Linked DNA regions of Homo sapiens: region 2 is linked to region 1. Evidence: promoter capture Hi-C in 16 types of primary human blood cells and fetal thymus (Javierre and others, 2016). All regions are on one chromosome and are shown on one strand. The core of a region is centred on a gene start or on the middle of the fragment in contact, and the rest is flanking DNA. Distances in the headings are between cores, read along the strand shown.

Region 1 (2,798 bases), core at 179-2,678:
TTTACTAGTGCACTTGTGGGATAATAATGGCACTTAATTCTCAGGGCTGTTGTGAGGGTTAAACAGTGATGGAAAGTTCTCAGAACAGCACCTACACACTCAAAACATACACCTATTGTCACTGCCTAACTTAATTGATTGAGTTATCCTGGACTCCTCTTTTCTTCACCCTCCAGTGATCCACTTAATTACCAAGTCCATTCCCTCCCCTTTCTCTGGCCTCATCTTTTGCCTTGATTACCACGAACAGCCTCCTAAAGGGTCTCTCTCCTTCCAAGATAACTTCCACAGCCCCCCATACTTCCTCTTCTGTAACACTCATCACAGTTGTGGTGACTTATTCAACATCTATTCAGCAACAAAATCTAGCTGCATGAGGTAAGGGAGTGTCGATGTCGGATTCCGACATTTATCTCCAGCTGCTACCACTGCAGCAGGAGTGAAGTACCCTCTCAACCCTTGTGGTAGACGCTCAATAAATATTTGTTAAAAAAAAAAACATGTTTTTGGCCAGGTGCGGTGACTCACACCTATAATCCCAGCACTTGGGAAGGCTGAGGCGGGTGGATCACCAGAGGTCGGGAATTTGAGACCAGCCTGACCAAAAAGGAGAAACCCCATCTCTACTAAAAATACAAAATTAGCTGGGCATGGTGGTGCATGCCTGTAATCCCAGCTACTTGGGAAGCTGAGGCAGAAGAATCGCTTGAACCCAGGAGGTGGAGGTTGCGGTGAGCCGAGATCACGCCATTGCACTCCAGCCTGGGCAACAAGACCAAGACTCCGTCTCAAAACAAAAAACAAAAACATGTTTTCAGAAAAATGTACTGACTCCTGTTGTAGGCTTTCTTAGGAACGAGCCAGAACGTCCTTAAGATCCGATGGAAGTATTCAGGAATGTAGTTTAGTCAATGCTGAAAACCTCCATCATGGCCAGAATTGAATTTAAAACATCCATCTGGCCTGGCCACTCCCTTGTTCACAAGCCTCTGGTTCTCCATAATATTCAAGATAAAGTTCAAATGGCTCCTTTGTCCCCACTTCATTGCTGGGAAAAGCAAGGCACCCAGGAGAGGATATAGGGCATGGAGCATAAAGGGAGATGGGTTGGGAGCAGATTGAGGAACTAAAGAGTTCAAATTTCCAACCTGGGCCCTGACCCAGACCAAAGCCAGGATACAGGTATGCAAGAAGTGAAAGGAGGAACAAGGTTTACCTTGTCTGCGCTAAGCTGTGCAGGAAAGCTCGTTTTGGAAGAGAAGAGGGCAGGGCCTGCCCCAGCACACCCCTAAGGCCTGGCTCCCACCCCAACTTACGCCTGCTTGATCTGGGCATCCTCTGAATTGCGAGTGATCCCGAGCACAGAGTAATAATCCTGGCCCATGGCTGGCTAGCTGGCAGTCAGGCCCTGGATAGTCCTCAGACTCTAGCAAGGCTGTTAGTTGGCTTCCTTGGTTGCTCCTGACAACCGCACAGGTGCACTCTGGGAGTTGTAGTCCCACTTCCCTAAACAAATTTCAGCTCTGCCACAGAGAGGAGTCAGTGAAAGGACTGGGGGAGAGCTGGGGCTGATTCTGCGACCCTGTGAAAGGTCACTCAACTCGGAAATTGAAGACTCACAGGGCTCTGTTTTATTTTGTTTTTGTTTTTAAAGAGAGCAGTAATTAGTTTTAATAAAAAGGTTTTAGAAGAAATGCATTTGGCTAATTTTTTAAAAATACATTTATTTTAGAACAGTTTTAGAGTTTAGAAAAGTTGAGAAGACAGTACAGAGAGTTCCCATATACCTCACATCCACATTCTCCTATTTTATTATTATTATTATCATTATCATGTTTTTGAGACAGGGTCTTCACTCTGTCACCCAGGCTGGTGGGCAGTGGCAGGATCACACCTCACTGCAGTCTCAACCTCCCAGGCTCAAGGGATTCTTCCACCTCAGCCTTCCAAGTAGCTGAGACACAGGCGTGCACTACCATGCCTGGCTAATTTTTGTATGTTTTGTAGAGATGGGGTTTCACCATGTTGCCCAGACTGGTCTTGAACTCTTGGGCTCGGCTTGGCCTCCCAAAGTGCTGGGATTACAGGTGTGAGCCACTGCATTCACATTCCCCTATTATTAACATCTTACATTAGTATGGTACATTTGTCACAAATAATGACCAATATTGATACATTATTATTAACTAAAATCCACATTTTATTCAGATTTACTAGTTGTTTTAACCTAATATCTTATTTCTGTTCCGGACCCCATCCAGGATGCCACGTTACACTTAGCTGTTGCATCTCCTCTGGTGCCTCCTGACTGTGACAGTTTCTCAGACTTTCCATGTTTTTGATGACCTTGACAGTTTAAGTAATAATGGTCAGGTGTTTTGTAGAATGTCCTGCAATTGGAATTTGTTTGGTGTTTTTCTTTTTGTTTGTTTGTTTTTGTTTTTTGAGATGGAGTCTCACTCCATCGCCCAGGCTGGAGTGCAGTGGCACAATTTCAGCTCACTGCAACCTCTGCCTCCCGGGTTCCAGCGATTCTCCTGCCTCAGCCTCCCAAGTAGCTGAGATTACAGGCATGTGCCACCATGCCCGGCTAATTTTTGTTATTTTTACTAGAGACGGGGTTTCACCATGTTGGCCAGGCTGGTCTCAAACTCCTGACCTCAAGTGATCCACCCACCTCAGCCTCCCAAAGTGTTGGGATTACAGGCGTGAGCCACCGCGCCAGCCCTCCTTCCCCACTTGCTGTATTGCACTCTTTGGAAGGCAGTCACTGTGCGGCCCACCCTTACAGTGAGGGA
Region 2 (2,798 bases), core at 128-2,627, 230 kb before region 1:
GGCGTGGTGGCACACACCTGTAAACCCAGCTACTCGGGTGGCTGAGGCAGAAGGGTTGCTTGGACCTGTGAGGCAGAGGTTGCAGTGAACCGAGATCATGCCACTGCACTCCAGCCTGGGTGACAGAGTGAGAACTCTGTCTCAAAAAAAAAAAGACATTATCAATTTAAATGTAAAAAAGAAATGTATCTTAGAATTGAGGAAATACAGTAAGTTTCCATTAGACAGTTTTCCAATTTAAATAATATTTCTACACATAAATCATCTCATTTTCTCCTCAAAAATTCTATGAGGCTAGCATTATTATCTACATTTAAAAAAAAATAAAGTCAAGTTTGCACCAGTTAAGCGGTAAGTAGTAAAGCCAGGAAGAGAATCCTAGTTTGTTGATTTTAAAACCTACCTTCCTTCTACTACAAGACAGTAGAAGTATAGAACTAACTGGGTTGGCAAACTACAGCCTACGGGAAATCCAGCCCACCACCTATTTTTGCATGGCCCAGGATCAGAGAATGATCTTTACATTTTTAAAAGGTGGAGGGCAGGGGGAGAAGAGAGACTAATGACATGTGGAAATTATGTGGAATTCAAATTTCAGTGTCCATAAAGTGTTGTTAGAACACAGACACATTCAGTTACATATTGTCTGTGGCTACTTTCACTCTAAAACAGCAGAGCTGAGTAGCTGCAACAGAGACTAACATGGCCCACAAAGCCTAAAATACTATCTGGCTTTTAACAGAAAATGTTTGCTGATTCCTGGTAAAATGACAGGTGCCACCAAAGGACAGAAAATAGAAAAATCGGTGCAAGCTGGACTGATCAGAAAAAGCCTCAGAACTTTATTTTAAATGAATTTGTGCTATGTGTCCATTAAATTAAATTTTACAAAAACATTTAACTGTGTTACAGTAGAAAGCACAAAGAAACAAAGGTCCTTGCACTACAGGAGTTCTAAATGTTATTGAGGAAACACACAAAAATCTGCATAAAATTATCTTCGATAAGTCTGACACAGTAACAGTGAAAAAGTACAATACCAATGCAAACAATTGATGAGTGGAGATGCCAAAATTGTTATAGGTGCTCAGAGAAGAGAGAGCAAATGAATGAACTAAAGTAGTCTGAAAGTGCTTCATGAGTTTTAAAGATGGATAGGAGTTGAAAAAGTGGGCCGGGCGCGGTGGCTCACGCCTGTAATCCCAGCACTTTGGGAGGCCGAGGCGGGTGGATCATGAGGTCAGGAGATCGAGACCATCCTGGCTAACAAGGTGAAACCCCGTCTCTACTAAAAATACAAAAAAAAAATTAGCCGGGCGCGGTGGCAGGCGCCTGTAGTCCCAGCTACTCGGGAGGCTGAGGCAGGAGAATGGCGTGAACCCGGGAAGCGGAGCTTGCAGTGAGCCGAGATTGCGCCACTGCAGTCCGCAGTCCGACCTGGGCGACAAAGCGAGACTCCGTCTCAAAAAAAAAAAAAAAAAAAAAAAAAGTGAAGAAAATGGAAGGCATTGCCAACAAAATAAACTTGGCAATTGTTAAGTGCAAGAAACACTTAGGAAATTACCACTGCTTAGGACATGACTTTGGAGCGCTTTTAACACTAGCCTTTAATGGTGGACCACTTGCTCTGGTCCCTAAACTTGGTGAAGGTGCTTGGAAAATAGTCTTCGCTCTTAGAGAATAAGTGATAAATTGGGCAAGGGCAGAAAAATTGAATACTATAAAATAAGGCTAGTGTGAAAATAATTGCTAATTGACATTTGCTGTCTTATAATAGTGGACTTGCTTTCAGGTTTGGGGAATCAAAGAGGAAGACATAAATTGTCAAATTTTGATAAAATAAAAGTAACAAGCCTGAATCTGTACATATCATGAGACCTATTACAAGCCTATTACAAGACCTATTACAAGAGTTTCGACCATATAATTATTTTAAATCTCAAAGTAACATATTGTAAACACAATACATTTTACCTAAAAGCTGGTATTGAAATAGAGATTCTATTATTCTATGAAGTATAACCGCTTTTAGGAGAAAGGCAGTATAGCCCTAGTTATACCATCTTAAGGGAACTGATGGGGAAATAACGTTGTTCTTATAGAACGGGGTTAAATAGGCCAGGATTTGGGTTTCTCGTTCAGTTAGCACTAAAGGAGACAGCATTCTAAGCACCAGCAAAATTCAGACACAATTCCTACCCTTATGAACCTCAACAGTTTTGAGGAATACACAGTTGACCAATAATTACAATTCAGAGGACTAAGGAGAATAGAGAATGTTCTGCTTGTCTACAATGTGATATGCCTACTAGGAGATAATGACCAAAACCAACAAAATTATATGATCAAATCCTAAGGAAAGCCAGGAGGAAGGAGAGAAAGGGGAGAAAGGGAAGGAGGAAAAACCTTCCTTGCCTAGAGAACAATAACCAAGAAATGTAAGTTGTATGTTTTTACATGAATGTCTCAAATCTAAATAGGAATAACACATCAACATCTAGGCTGCTTAAGTCTGTTAAGAGAGTTATTGATGAGTCATGAATGGGCACAGTAGCAGTCTTAATCACTTGTTGTCACAAATTCTGTCAAAGTCTAGGAGTCTGGTAGTGGAGGCTAAATACTGAAGTTTAATTGCAGCCAGCTATTTAAATCAAGGCACCACTGTTTTTAAAATGTCCTTATTAGCAGTACTTTGAAGAGAATGAAAAGAAAGCAACCAGATGGCTGGCTGAGGGTTGTGGTAGGTCTGAAGTGTTCCTTACTCCAAGGCATGCCATTAAGCAGCAGACTTCAGGATT

Evidence for each region. Contacts are between HindIII fragments. The CHiCAGO score rates a contact against its expected background, and 5 or more counts as called.
Region 2: a contact is called between a fragment that was not itself captured here and the fragment with the promoter of DNAJB13 in region 1, in 1 of 17 cell types (erythroblasts). The highest score is 5.1, in erythroblasts.

What each region holds. Positions count from the first base shown.
Region 1 is chr11:73,949,656-73,952,453 of GRCh38, reverse strand. It overlaps DNAJB13 (DnaJ heat shock protein family (Hsp40) member B13), which reads right to left and starts at 1,428. Exons shown (of 8, transcript NM_153614.4): 1 at 1,317-1,428. The coding sequence starts at 1,384. The HindIII fragment of the contact is 10,163 bases long and covers 1-2,798 here.
Region 2 is chr11:74,179,722-74,182,519 of GRCh38, reverse strand. All of the region lies in intron 1 of PPME1 (protein phosphatase methylesterase 1), which reads right to left. Among named protein-coding and RNA genes, the nearest start is that of PPME1, 9.8 kb to the right of the region's middle. The HindIII fragment of the contact is 5,755 bases long and covers 1-2,798 here.